Regions from separate parts of the Homo sapiens genome. Here regions 2, 3, 4 and 5 are each linked to region 1. Evidence: promoter capture Hi-C in 16 types of primary human blood cells and fetal thymus (Javierre and others, 2016). All regions are on one chromosome and are shown on one strand. Each heading gives the region's core, a stretch centred on a gene start or on the middle of the fragment in contact. The rest is flanking DNA. Distances are from core to core; before and after follow the strand shown.

Region 1 (2,703 bases), core at 73-2,572:
GATGTGGGTTTGGGTTTTTCCCCCTCACTTCTCAGACCCAGAACTGCCCCATCCCAGTCTGGGGGGAGACATGATGCTCCATCCCCCAAAGCTGAGCCCCCTCATGGGGCATCCAGGAGAAGGCAATGGGTCCCCAGGACAGGGCCCGGACCTCCCCCTTGCTCGCCCAGCCCCACAAAGCCCCACTCAGCTTCTCCACTGCCTTCATTGTCTACAGACTTCAACCTCACAAAACGCCCAACAAAAGCCCTGCAGTCCACGGCCCAAAGGCCACAAGCCAGCTATTGTGACATTCCAGCTGGCCTGGGAGGCTTCACTTCCCACTCTCAGGAGCTTTTTAAAGTATCTCTTAAAAATGCATCTCAGATGGGGAAAAGAGGTAGCAATTCTGTTGCCAAGGAAAATGAGATTTTGGCCAAGTGCAGTGAGTCATGCCCGTAATCCCAATACTTTGGGAGGCCGAGACAGGAGGATGGCTTGAACCCAGGAGTTTAAGACCAGCCTGGGCAACACAGTAAGACCCTGTCTCTACAAAAAAATTAAAAAATTACCAAAGTGTGGTGGCACATGCCTATGGTCCCAGCTACTCAGGAGGCTAAAGTGGGATGATCACTTGAGCCCAGGAGTTAAGAGATGACAGTGAACTATGATCTTGCCACTGCACTCCAGCCTGGGCAACAGAGCAAGACTCTATCTCAGGAAGAAGGAGAGACAGAGAGGGAGAGAGAGAGAGAAAGAGAAAAGAAAGGAAAGGGAAGGAAGGAAGGAGAAAGGAAGGAAGGCAGGGAGGGAAGGAAGGAAGGGAGGGAAGGAAGGAAAATGAAATTTTCTCCTAATCCTTACAATCGAATAGCTAGCGACCACAACTCCTATCATTTGAAAACTCCTTGAAATCAAGCATCTCTTGGTCAACTTGACCCCTAATTTGTTTTGTTTTAAGGACCCTCTAGGACAAGGAAGACGTGTTCTGTTTTCTCCCAATCTTCTGGAAATCCTTCCCAAGATGGGAGGACTGGAATTCCAGAACAAGGGATGACAGGAGCATGAGAAAGGTGGGAGAGACTGTGGCCGGACCTCACCTGAGAAAGTCAGCCCTTCCCAAGGCATCCATGCATCTGGGCCCCTCACCCATTTGGCCCCCTTCCCTCTTAGATGCAAGGCTTCTGATTCTGATGGAAGATATTTGGCTTCTTCAAGGAGTGTGGGCACACTAAGCATGCCACTGGCTTCTCCCAATTCCTGAATAAGGGACACTTACCAGGCAAGTGCTGGGGACCCCCACATCCTCAGGCCCAGCAGCTCTCTCCTGCCCTGGGAGAATTTAATCTGAAGCAGTTCCAAGCAACTAAACGAAAGGTTGGCTCCTCCCCTTCCCCTCCAGTGCAGGTCTCGGGTCACTCAGGTGCCAGAAAACACAGGTGGGTGTCAACACTCTCAGCTTCTCCCCATCCCTCTGCATGGGTGAGATGAATTGCTTCAGCCGTGGGAGCTCAAAATAAGATTGCGGATCAGAAGGCTGAAGATGAATTGATCCACTGAGGCTGGAGTGCAGGCCCTCATTCTCCGCTCCCGGGAGAAGCCTGTCTCTGTGCCCAAGGAAGGAAAGAAGCTAAGAAACTGAGCTTCACCGGAGGAACAGTCACGCTGTCTTGATGGGGCTTCCCAGAACCCTGCTCCAGGCCCCTCCTGGCAGAGTTCAAAAGGAGCTGAGGGGCCAGGCATGGTGGCTCATGCCTGTAACCCCAGCATTTTGGGATGCAGAGATGGGCAGATTGTTTGAGGTCAGGAGTTCGAAACAAGCCAGGGGAACATGGCAAGACCCTGTCTCTACAAAAAATTTAAAAACTAGCTGGGCATGGTGGCACACACCTGTGGTCCTAGCTACTCAGGAGGCTGAGGTGAGAGGATTGCTTGAGCCCAGGAGGTTGAGGCTGCAGTGAGCCCTGATTGTGCTACTGCACTCCAGCCTGGGCAACAGAACAAGACCCTGTCTAAAAAAAAAAAAAAAAGGGGCCGGGCACAGTCACTCATGCCCATAATCCCAGTGATTTGGGAGGGCGAGGCAGGCTGATCACCTGATGTCAGGACTTCGAGACCAGCCTGGCCAACATGGTGAAACCTTATCTCTACTAAAAATACAAAACTAGCCAGGTGTGGGGGTGCACGCCTGTAATCCCAGCTACTTGGGAAGTTAAGGCAGGAGAATTGCTTGAACCCGGGAGATGGAGGTTGCAGTGAGCCAAGATCGTACCATTGTACTGCAGCCTGGGTGACAAGAGCAAAACTCCGTCTAAAAAAAAAAAAAAAAAAAAAAAAAAAAAAAAAAAAAAAAAAAAAGACCAGGCGCAGTGACTCACGCCTGTAATCCTAGCACTTTGGGAGGCTGAGGTGGGTGGATCATCAGGTCAGGAGTTTGAGACCAGCCTGGCCAACATGGTGAAACCCTGTCTCTACCAAAAATACAAAAAATAGCCGGGCTTGGTGGTGGGCACCTGTAATCCCAGCTACTCTGGAGGCTGAGGCAGGAGAATCGCTTGAACCTGGAAGGCAGAGATTGCAGACAGCTGAGATCGTGCCATTGCACTCCAGCCTGGGCGATACAATAAGACTCCGTCTCAAAAAAAAAAAAAAAAAGGAAGAGGAGATTAGGGCACGGACACATACGGAGGAATGACGGTGTGAGGACACAGGGAGAAGATGGCC
Region 2 (2,703 bases), core at 85-2,584, 490 kb before region 1:
TGAGCCACCGCACCTGGCCTGAAATTTTTATTTTACATATTATACTTTTCATGTCTAGAAATTCTATTTTCTTTTTTTTTGAGACGGAATGTCACTCTGTCGCCCTGGCTGGAGTGCAGTGGCGTGACCTCGGTTCACTGCAAGCTCTGCCTCCTGGGTTCACCCCATTCTCCTGCCTCAGCCTCCTGAGTAGCTGGGACTACAGGTGCCCGCCACCATGCCTGGCTAATTTTTTTTTTGTATTTTTAGTAGAGAAGGGGTTTCACCGTGTTAGCCAGGATGGTCTCGATCTCCTGACCTCGTGATCCATCCGCCTCGGCCTCCCAAAGTGCTGGGATTACAGGCGTGAGCCACTGTGCTCGGCCTCTATTTTCTTTTTATACCTTACATTTCTCTTCTTACTGTGACATGTTTTCATTTAAATACTTGAGTATAGTTGTAACACCTGTCTTACTGTTCTTGTCTACTAGTTATATCGTCTGGTTTTTCTTATTGTTATTGGTTACATTTTCCTGCTTCTTGACATATGTTGAAATTTTTAAATTAAATTTTATGTTTTTGAGACTGAGTTTTGCTCTTGTTGCCTAGGCTGGAGTGCAATGGCGCGATCTCGGCTCACCGCAACCCCCGCCTCCTGGGTTCAAGTGATTCTCCTACCTCAGCCTCCCAAGTAGCTGGGATTACAGGCATGCACCACCACACCCGGCTAATTTTTGTATTCTTAGTAGAGACGGGGTTTCTCCATGTTGGTCAGGCTAGTCTCGAACTCGTGACCTCAGGTGATCCGCCCGCCTCAGCCTCCCAAAGTGCTGGGATTACAGGCGTGAGCTACCGTGCCTGGCCATGTGTTGAAATTTTTTATTGGATGCTGGATATTGTGAGTTCAGTATTGTTGAGGTTATGGATTTTGTGGTCTTTAAAGAGTGCTTAAAGCTTTTTTCTTCTGTGCAGTTTTTTATGGTTTACTGTTATCATTTTGAGTCCTGTTTTTTAGCTTTGTTAGAGTGGATCTGGATAATCTTTAATCTAGGGATCATTTGACCTCTGGTCTCTCCTGAATGCCCTGTGAGGACACTCCAGTCTGGCTGCTTGGGACTCATGATTCCCCTGAGAGTTCTAAGAAATGTCAGCTCCTAGCTTCTTCTTCACTGTGGAGTTTCACCCTATGCATGCACAAATTTTAGTATTCAGCAGAGACCTGAGGGAACCTCCAGACAGATTTCTGGACCACTTTTTCTGCATAGCTCTTTCTTTCTGAAGTCTGTCCTGCAGCTTTCAGCTGCCTTGGCCTCCCTGAACTCTGATCTCTGTCTCTTCAACTTAAGTGGGTGGCGTGCTCTGCTGGGGATCCCCGTCTCTCTCCAGGGCCTGAAATGTGTCTCCTGGCAGGAAGCCAGAGTGATTTTAGGGCCCAAGTAATTTGTTTCTCTGCTTTCAGGGATCGTAGTCCTGCACTGCCTGCTGTCCAATGTGTACACACAGTGGTTTTATTTATTTGGCTTAGTTTTCTAGTTGTTTACAGTGGGAGGGCAAATCTGTTCCCTATCACTCCATCATGACCCGAAGTGGAAGTGCATTGGTTGACTTTGAGCAGAGGAGTGACATGAAATAACTTATCATCTCCTCTAATCCCAAATGTGAGGTGGTGGTATTATTCCCGTTATTCCCATAGATGAGGAAACTGAGGCTCAGAGAGGTTGAGCAGCGTGCCCCCAAATCACTGAGTTCTTAATGCCAAAGCTTGTGTACTTTCTGTCATGCCACTGCATCTCAAAGGATATTGGTGGGATCGAATCTTATTCTTCCCAGCAGAGAACTACACAGACTGGCTTAGGACCTATCTGGAGTCACAGTCACCGGGCAGATGCAGGATGGGTTCTCCTATCTGAAGTCGCAGTTACTGGGCAGATGCAGGATGGGTTCTCCTAGACCTGGAGCTTTCGCCAGTTGCTCAAATCTGTGAGCTGCTTGTGAGGTTGTTCTTTGTTGGACAGCAGGTCAGGATCTGGGAACGCCTTCCAGTTGGGGAAGGTCAGCGCCTTGGCAGCAGGAGTGAGAGCACCTTTGTCTCTACCAAAAGAAAAGCATTTCTCTCTCTGCCGCCGTAGTCTTTGCCTGACTTGTTTTTTTAAAGCAGTTTTCTGCTTTTGCTTTCTTCTCTTCCTGCTCTCCCCATTCAGGCCTCTAAGGATCCTGGGCATGGATTGCCTTAGGTCCTTTTCTTACATCGTTACAATAGATGCCTGTGGGTGGTTTCTAAGCCTTTTTTTTTTTTTTTTTTTCTGAGACAGTCTTACTCTGTTACCCAGGCTGGAGTGCAGTGATGTGATCACAGCTCACCACAGCCTCAACCTCCTGGGCTCAGTTGATCCTCCCACTTCAACCTCCTGGGTAGTTGGGACTTACAGGCATGTGCCACCATGCGTGGCAAATTTTTGTATTTTTTAGTAGAGACAGGGTTTTACCATGTTGCTCAGGCTGGTCTCGAACTCCTGGGCCCAAGCGATCCTCCCACATCGGCCTCCCAAAGTGCTGGTGTGAACCACCATGCCCGGCCTTGTTTTTTTTTTTTTTTTAATCATGGACTACTCTGTGAAGATTTCCAGGATCAGTTGGAGATGAGGTTTTGCTATGTTGGCCAGGCTGGTCTTGAACTCCTGACCAGGTGATCTGCCTGCCTCGACCTCCCAAAATGCTGGGATT
Region 3 (2,703 bases), core at 75-2,574, 460 kb before region 1:
CTGCTGTTATCAAATCACTCGTGAATCCAGCTAATTAAAATAGAGCTTCATTTTTCTGAACCATTGTTTGGCAGGAATTCGAAACGGGTCTAACCCAATTTCTGCATGTTTATGAGCCTTTATTATATCAGAGGTACTTTTCTGTAAATGTACAGGGCAGCGTTAAATGAATTGATCCACACAGTATCACTGTAGACGCACTATGGACTTGCTAATGATTTCTCTTCCAGCTTTCTGGTTTCCAGACATACTCTTGAAAGCTTTATCTTCTCTTTTTCTATCCTCTGCTCTTTGCCGTTGTCTTTTTTTTTTTTTTTAAACATTTTGAACTTTCCTTTTACTTTTTAATCTTCTTTTTTCTTTGGAAACAGGAAAACTATCCCCTTAAAGAAGTTTTCTTTTCCATTTCTCTTTTTCTTCCTCTCTTCCTGTTTTTGTTTTTCTTCTAGTGGATAAGATTTGTCTTTTCTTCCTTTATTTCTTGCTGTTTTCTATTCTCTCCTTTTCTTTTCTTTTTCTCTCTTATCTTTTCTCCCTTTTATACTTTCTCCCATTCCTTTTCTCTAACCTTCTCTTTCTCCTTTTTCTCTTCTTTCTATCTCCTCCCATTTTCCCTAATAAAATATCCTTATACCTTTGTCTCCACATGCAAATACTGACTAGGGAAGATGGGGGTGCCCGTGGAGGCAGAGCTATCTGGCTGCTCTAAGATGATGTCAGCTGAGTTTACTTCTCTGAATTTGCTTTCATGCTTTATTTTAGGTTTTAAAAAGATTTTTCAAGCCACATCTACTCTACTTTATAGTCTGTAATCCTACTTTGAAGATGAAAAGTGTTACATAAATGCTAACTAATTATTCCTTATACCACTTTGTGAGTCTCTAAGCAGTATTAGTTCCAGTTTACAGATGAGGAAGCAGGAACGGGAAAGGTAAGTAGCTCTGAAAGTTACTGAAGAAGTTGGTGACTGAGTTAGAATTAAACCTGGCTCATCTTTGGCTTTGCTTTTTGATTACCACCTTATGGGTGTTGACTTTTTTCCCCCCTAAGAATCATACATATTTAAGGTGAGGTTGAGTGAATACCATCCCCTTGGCCCCTTCTCATTATATACTTTTAACCTTCTGAAGTTTCATTTGTAGTCTTTAGATGTTAAATGAATTTCTAGGTAATTCCTGGGAAAGAAGGATGCTGAACCACTTGTGGGCTGGTAAAAACCCTGTCTATTAGTCTTAAAGCAGAGTGCTCACTTTCTCTTTCCAACAGCTTCCAGTAAGTGGGCCCACGTCACACACTGGCCCCAGTGATCGTAGTGTTGTAGGAAGCGCTGCCATATTTGATTGAATTTAGCCATTCTGGAATGACGTGTTCATGAAGTCGGCTCTTGCATTACCGTGGCCTTTATTATTGCTAATGCATTCTGACATTACAGGTGTAGCCTTGGCTCTCCCAGAAAGGGCAAGGCTGCTCTTACCAAACGAAAGAGCAGAATTTATGAAACTGTTACACAGTGAGGCCAGTGTTCACCTTTAGTTACTAAGCAGAGTAAGGGAAATAAATGCTTTTATAGAAAAGATAGCCAGTGACAGCAGTCTATCCTGATTCCTCACCCAGCACTGTTTCAAAAAGTGGATCAATTAATATTGTTGCCAGACAGAGAACGAGGACCAATGGTTAGGAGGTTCAGGAAAGTAGATTTCAACTCAGTTTAAAGAGGCACTCCTGAAAATGAGCTGACAGTCTCTTAAGGGAGTAGTTTCCCTGCTCATTATGAGCATTCAAGAGGAGGCTTCCTGATCATTTGTCAGGGTTGTTGGAGAGGGGAGTCCCTAGGTCATGGGTGGGACCAGATGGCTCAAGATCTCTTTTGGCTTGTTTCCTCATCTTAGATTGCTACAGCACAAACAGCATCTTTCCTGCTTCTATTTTGACTTTACAAGTGGCTGGTGTACCGTGAGGACCTGTGAATGCTCAGTAGCTATTCATTATTTAATCTCTGGCTTCCTGCTTCTTAATCTAACATGAATCAAAGCTGTTCTTGTTCAATTCAGGAAAACCACCATCTCTGGCACCTCCTAGAATGAGGCATTCTGGATAGTTACGTTTTCTGGATGGTCATCAGGAGCCATTTGAAAGCAGAACAAACAAAACACTTTAAAACTTTTGGCTGGGAATTATGTAAAATGGATTACATACTTTCTTGCTTTATTAAGCTGAATATCTGGAATATAATTTAATCGTGATGACTCAGTATTGTCATTTTAGATGAACGTGTTTATATGGTGTTATAAGCATAGCTGTGTTTTCAAAACCTGTTGAAATATAGATGTGTTGTATATTTGCCCCTACTTGAAATGACTCCACCGATTCTAAATGACCCCAGACTAATAAGCTTTTTGAATTTTTTTGTTTGCTTTTCATGGATGTTTCTCTCTTGGCATTTGCTGTTGGGCTTTTTTTTGCTGTCACATCTTTGTTTGGTGTTTCTGTACTAGCTGGCTCCTTCCTCTCTGTTCTTATTTGCAGCTTTTATCTTCTATGATTTGGATACCAGATAACTAAGCTTGTATATAAAATAAATAGTAAGTAGCGTGAGTAAAGCTTCGCAGCGTATAAAATATATGGAATTTGTAATATCTTTTTTGGCTGCCCTGATTTCTTCTGCTATTCCCTGTCTCCTCCTTCTCTGTTGGTTTTCTCCTT
Region 4 (2,703 bases), core at 109-2,608, 440 kb before region 1:
TGAAGGGCGAGGGAAACGAGATGACTAACAAGGTCAGGTTAAACTCAAGCTTGGGGTCAGTCCGATTTACAGATTGAAGCGGTAAATTAGTGGTTTTATGGTATTTCTGTAAACAGGGATAAAGTGGACCCTGACAAATTCAATATTGTCTGAAGAGACAATCTATTCTGGTTCTGTTGGACTTCAGGGTATTTTTCTTTTTTTGTAAAATGAAAACTACAAAGAAACCTGACTTTTCAATTTTTTATACATGTAATTTTCTAGAAATCTAGGAAGTCATTTACACATCCTTATATACCATGATGGGCAAAAGTAAGCTTTCTTCCTCCCAAAGCAAAACTCTTTTTCCTTAAGGAGCTGGAATGCCAGCCTTGAAATTCTGAGTTTTGAGCTTTCAGTCATTTTTGGCTGGAATAGGTGGGTGATATTTCCTAGGTCTGCTCTGTGATGTCCCGCTGAAGGGATGCAGCATGAACCATTGGTCCCTTCATGCGATCATGTCCCGGGGCTGCACTAACAGGGTTTGGGCAGAAGAAGCCCAAACATTTCACCACAGGCAGCTGCTTCGCGGCAGCCCCAAGGCTGGGTCCCTGCGACAGAGTTGGTAAGGAGCACTGCACGGCTGCTCACTGGCTGCATTGTGCCAGCACCCCCCCCCCCCGCCATCATTAGGAGATTATTAAAATTTGGAGTGTGTTGGCTGGCCTCGCCACTCCGCAAGCATCATGCCATAAAAGAGTTTTTCCTTGAAATATGTGTACCTATGGGGAGTAATTAATCATAAAAGCTTAGGGATTTCAGCTCTCTCATCAAAGCATTGAAGCTGGGGAAAGCTGAGCCTAAAAGCTGAGCTGATTACCCGGGGTAACCTGAGACAAAATCTATGGTTGCCGAGAGATCCTTAGCTCCAGTATATTGTGCAATATTATAACTGCCTGATCTTCTCTTCCACCGACAATGACCAGTTAGTCCTCATTTTCTCTCAAACGCAGCTGGGTTAGAATTTCATTTGCAGAAGGTATTTAGAGCAATTTAGAGACAAATGTCTCTGGTGTTTGCTCGGCACTTCCCCACCGCAGGCTTTGCTGAGCAGTTTTAGTATCAGGAGCTCCATCTAATCTGTTTAATTTTAATAAATCCCTGACTGGGAGAGGGAGTGAAAAAAAAAAGAGAGAGAGAAACTCTGGACCAAATAATACTTCTTTTGAGTTACTTGGCTAATAATTACTGTAGAGAGAAAACTTTTTGTGCAATTATGATTCGTTGCTCCTTTAGCAAAAAAAATCCAACTGATCAATTCATCCAAGAGTCATTGTGCACCCTATGCCCTGTCCCTGGACTCCCATCAGGAATTTAGCAGAGAACCGAACAGACAAAATCCCTGCCCTCGCAGAGCTTAAATTCTAGTGGAGGGAAGGCAGACGATTAACAAATGGGAAAATGAAATAGGTCGGATGTCAGATGCCGAGCGCCATGGATACTGATGAATGAAGCAGGGAGCCGGGGTGAGGAATGCCAGAGTTGGTGTGGGCTGGACTGTGATCTTAAACAACATGAATGTCAGAGTGTCTCTAAGAGGGTGGCACATGAGCAAAGACTGGAAGGTGACTGTTTATTGGTACAGTGGACATAATTCCTTCTTGACCCCTAATTTGGGTTAGAGTTTTTAGAATTTTAGGCATCTGGCACCTTGAGATGCTATCCTGCCCTTCGTCCTCTAAAGAGAACCATGTGAGTTTATCCCGTACTTAAACCTGGAATCTCTGAGGTTAATCACCCATCTCCATTATCCTCTAAAATGCTGCTTCAGTCAGTAATTATCCATTTCCGAGTTGAATCCCAATGGAGTAGGTTCTGGCAGGACCTTTTCTGGGCAGAGAATTCCAAGGTTTGATCGGTGTCTGGGGAAGAAAAGCCCCTTCGCAGATTTAAGCTTCACTTTTCAAATTTCGGGCTGTTCCAGGGTCAGGTTTCCGTGCTCAGCACGGCCTGGCACCGTCTCCGATGGGGATGAGGGTGAACATCTACTGGGTCCCTAACAGTAGTTGTGGCAGGAAAGCAAATTGGCTCGCTGGCCGTCTGGACCAGGAGGGGCCTGGGTTCTGGCACCCGTGCTCTTGGACTCCCTGCAGAAGCCTTGCAGTGCTGGGCTTGGAGCATGGGCTCTGGGAGGGCTCTCAGCTCCTGGAGTCTTGGCTTTTCCTAGCAATGTCACTTCAGGGAATTGCAGTGGAGCACTGACTTGAATTATAATCTTGACTTTCTTTTTTTTAATAAACATCTCTTTCCTGAAAAGGCAAATCCAATTTTGTTTTTCTTTTAATATTATTTAATATTTAATATAGAAATTGAGGTCCCTGTAGTGCATGTCAGTTCAGTGGAAAATGAGGCGCATCAGCTGAGTTTGTTTCATTGTGAAACCGCAGCTGGGAGCAGGGGCTGCATCCTGTCCGTGTTACCGACTGGTTAAGTGTTGTGCTCTGTGACTTCTGGTGGGGGTGCTGGGTGAGGGTGAGTAGGGAATGAGTGGTATAGGGATGGAAGAGCATTGGTTTGCAAAGGTCTTTCCTGTTACTTTTTTTTTGTTTTTTGTTTTGAGATCTCTTTCGGATGCTTTAAAATCTGAACATGGAGCCATTAATGAGAAACGTGAAGTTATTAGAATCATTTATCATTTTCTTTGAAGTTTGTACTGCCATTTTG
Region 5 (2,703 bases), core at 109-2,608, 390 kb before region 1:
ACAACAAGGATGACTCGCAAGCATAATGTTGAACAAAAGGAGCCGTTTACCTTTTTTTTTTTTTTTTTTTTTTTTTTTTTGAGACGGAGTCTCGCTCTGTTGCCCAGGCTGGAGTGCAGTGGCGTGATCTCTGCTCACTGCAAGCTCCACCTCCTGGGTTCACGCCATTCTCCTGCCTCAGCCTCCCGAGTAGCTGGGACTACAGGTGCCCACCACCATGCCCAGCTAATTTTTTTTGTATTTTTAGTAGAGACGGGGTTTCACCATGTTAGCCAGGATGGTCTCAATCTTCTGACCTCATGATCCACCGCCTCGGCCTCCCAAAGTGCTGGGATTACAGGTGTGAATGCTTTCCGTATTATCCCACATATATAAAATTCAAAAGCAAGCAAACTGAATCTGTGGTATTAGAAGTTAGGTGGTGACTGGGAGGAGACAAGGGATGTTGCTAGAGGCTGTTACTCTATTTTTTGATCTGGATGGTAGTTACATAAGTGTGTTCACCGTGGGAAAATTCATTAAGCTGTACACTTAAAAATGTGCATGCTTTTCTGTATATATTCAATGCCAACAAAAGTTTCCTTAAAATTATAATGAGGCTGTGTGTGGTGGCTCACGCCTGTAATCCCAGCACTTTGGGAGGCCGAGGCAGATGGATCACGTGAAGCCAGGAGTTTGAGACCAGCCTGGCCAACATAGTGAAACCCTGTATCTACAAAAATACAAAAATTAGCAGGGCTGGTGGCACACTCCTGTAATCCCAGCTTCTCGGTAGGCTGAGGCACGAGAATTGCTTGAACCTGGGAGGCGGAGGTTACAGTGAGCCGAGATGGCACCAGCCTGAGTGACAGAGTGAGATTCTGTCTCAAATAAATAAATAAATAAAATAACGAGACAATTTTTTAACCTTTCAGAATGGCAAAGATAAAAAGCTTAATAGCATCATGTAGGCAAGGTTGAGGGAATGTGAGTGGAAACAACCTGGAAGAAGGTTTGACAGGTCTTATTAAAATTAAAACTGCACACATCTGAGTCTATTCCTAGGGATATAGTTTACACATGTACAAGTGGTATATTCAAGGTCCTTTATTATGGCTTTGTTTGTAGCAGTAAAGGTTCAGTAGGGGATGTTAAATAAATTATAGTACATCCATACCAACCATATAGCCATTAAATAGAATGAGAGAGCTCTGTAGATACTAATATGGAGTATCCTCCAAGATAACCTAATTAAAAATAGCAAGGTATAGAACAGCATGTATAGCGTGCTATCATTGTATAAAAATATACGGACACACATATGTATACACACATGTGCTTTTTTTTTTTTTTTTTTTTTTTTTAAAAAAAAAAGAGATGGAGTCTTGGCCAGGCACAGTGGCTCATGCCTGCAATCCTAGCACTTTGGGAGGCCGAGCGAGTAGATCACGAGGTCAGGAGTTCAAGACCAGCCTGGCCAAGATAGTGAAACCCCATCTCTACTAAAAATACGAAAAAATTAGCTGGGCGTGGTGGTGCCTGTAATCCCAGCTACTCGGGAGGCTGAGGTAGAGAATTGCTTGAACCCAGGAGGCTAAGGTTGCAGTGAGCCGAGATTGCACCACAGCGCTCCAGCCTGGGTGACAGAGCGAGACTCCGTCTCAAAAAAAAAAAGACATGGAGTCTCACTATGTTGCCTAGATTTGAAATCCTGGACTCAAGCAATCCTCTTGCCTCATCCTCCCAAGCAGCTGGGATTATAGGTGTCCACCACTGTGCCCAGCTACATGTATGCTTTTTATATAAGAAGCTTTAGCAATAGTTGCCCCTGGAGGATGTAACAGGGTGGCAGGAGTGGGAAGGAGACTGATTTTTCACGATAAAGTGGACCCCCTTTATCCATAGTTCTGCCTCTTATGCTTTCAGGTACCCGAGGCCAACCAAAGTCCAAAAATGTTTAAATGGAAAATTCCAGAAATAAATGATTCATAAGTTTTAAATTGTGTGCCATTCTGAGTAGCTTGATGAAACCTCCTGCTGTCCTACCTGAGATGTGGATCATCCCTTTGTCCAGCTTATCCATGCTGTGGACGCCTCCACCTGGCAGTCACTTAGTAGCCCTCATGGTGATCAGATCGATGGTCATGGTATCCAAGTGCTTGTGTTCAAGTAAGCTCTATGTTACTTAATAGTGACCCCACGTGCAAGAGTAGTGATGCTGGCAATTCAGATATGTCAAAGAGAAGCCGTAAAGTGCTTCCTTTAAGTGAAACAGAGAATGCTCTTGACTTAATAAGGAAAGAAAAAAAATCATATGCTGAGGTTGCTAAAATCTATTGTAAGAACAAATCTATCCATGAAATTGTGAAAGAGGAAAAAAAATTTGTGCATAGAATGTACAGAATTTTGTATTATCTGTGGTTTCAGGCATTCGCTGAGTGTCTTGGAATGAATCCCCCCACAGATAAGGGTGGGCTACTGTATACCCTTTTATATCTTTAGAATTTTATACAGTGCAAATATTTTTTAAACATTAATTTTAAAAATAATTGTTAAAAGTCCCTTAGAAAGATGTTCTCTCAGTAAGTTCAGTAGAGCCCACATTTTCCGTCACACTGAAACAGATCTTTGGTTTAATACCAGACGACATAGTCTGCATTGCATGTGAGTGCCAAGCTGTGTGGGGGAAAATAGCCTGTGACATGGTGCTCAGATTGCAAGGGT

What was found. Contacts are between HindIII fragments. The CHiCAGO score rates a contact against its expected background, and 5 or more counts as called.
Region 2: a fragment that was not itself captured here is called in contact with the fragment with the promoter of CIROZ in region 1 in 1 of 17 cell types (endothelial precursors); the score reaches 5.1 in endothelial precursors.
Region 3: a contact is called between a fragment that was not itself captured here and the fragment with the promoter of CIROZ in region 1, in 5 of 17 cell types (endothelial precursors, M1 macrophages, megakaryocytes and 2 more). The highest score is 9.1, in endothelial precursors.
Region 4: a fragment that was not itself captured here is called in contact with the fragment with the promoter of CIROZ in region 1 in 1 of 17 cell types (endothelial precursors); the score reaches 5.5 in endothelial precursors.
Region 5: a fragment that was not itself captured here is called in contact with the fragment with the promoter of CIROZ in region 1 in 1 of 17 cell types (M2 macrophages); the score reaches 5.1 in M2 macrophages.

The regions. Positions count from the first base shown.
Region 1 is chr1:10,980,754-10,983,456 of GRCh38, forward strand. CIROZ (ciliated left-right organizer protein containing ZP-N domains) reads right to left here and starts at 1,323. Exons shown (of 13, transcript NM_001170754.2): 1 at 1,259-1,323. The coding sequence starts at 1,284. The HindIII fragment of the contact is 7,392 bases long and covers 1-2,703 here.
Region 2 is chr1:10,488,438-10,491,140 of GRCh38, forward strand. All of the region lies in intron 1 of PEX14 (peroxisomal biogenesis factor 14), which reads left to right. Among named protein-coding and RNA genes, the nearest start is that of PEX14, 15 kb to the left of the region's middle. The HindIII fragment of the contact is 807 bases long and covers 932-1,738 here.
Region 3 is chr1:10,520,677-10,523,379 of GRCh38, forward strand. All of the region lies in intron 2 of PEX14 (peroxisomal biogenesis factor 14), which reads left to right. Among named protein-coding and RNA genes, the nearest start is that of PEX14, 47 kb to the left of the region's middle. The HindIII fragment of the contact is 2,132 bases long and covers 259-2,390 here.
Region 4 is chr1:10,536,693-10,539,395 of GRCh38, forward strand. All of the region lies in intron 3 of PEX14 (peroxisomal biogenesis factor 14), which reads left to right. Among named protein-coding and RNA genes, the nearest start is that of PEX14, 63 kb to the left of the region's middle. The HindIII fragment of the contact is 1,146 bases long and covers 786-1,931 here.
Region 5 is chr1:10,586,578-10,589,280 of GRCh38, forward strand. All of the region lies in intron 3 of PEX14 (peroxisomal biogenesis factor 14), which reads left to right. Among named protein-coding and RNA genes, the nearest start is that of PEX14, 110 kb to the left of the region's middle. The HindIII fragment of the contact is 857 bases long and covers 931-1,787 here.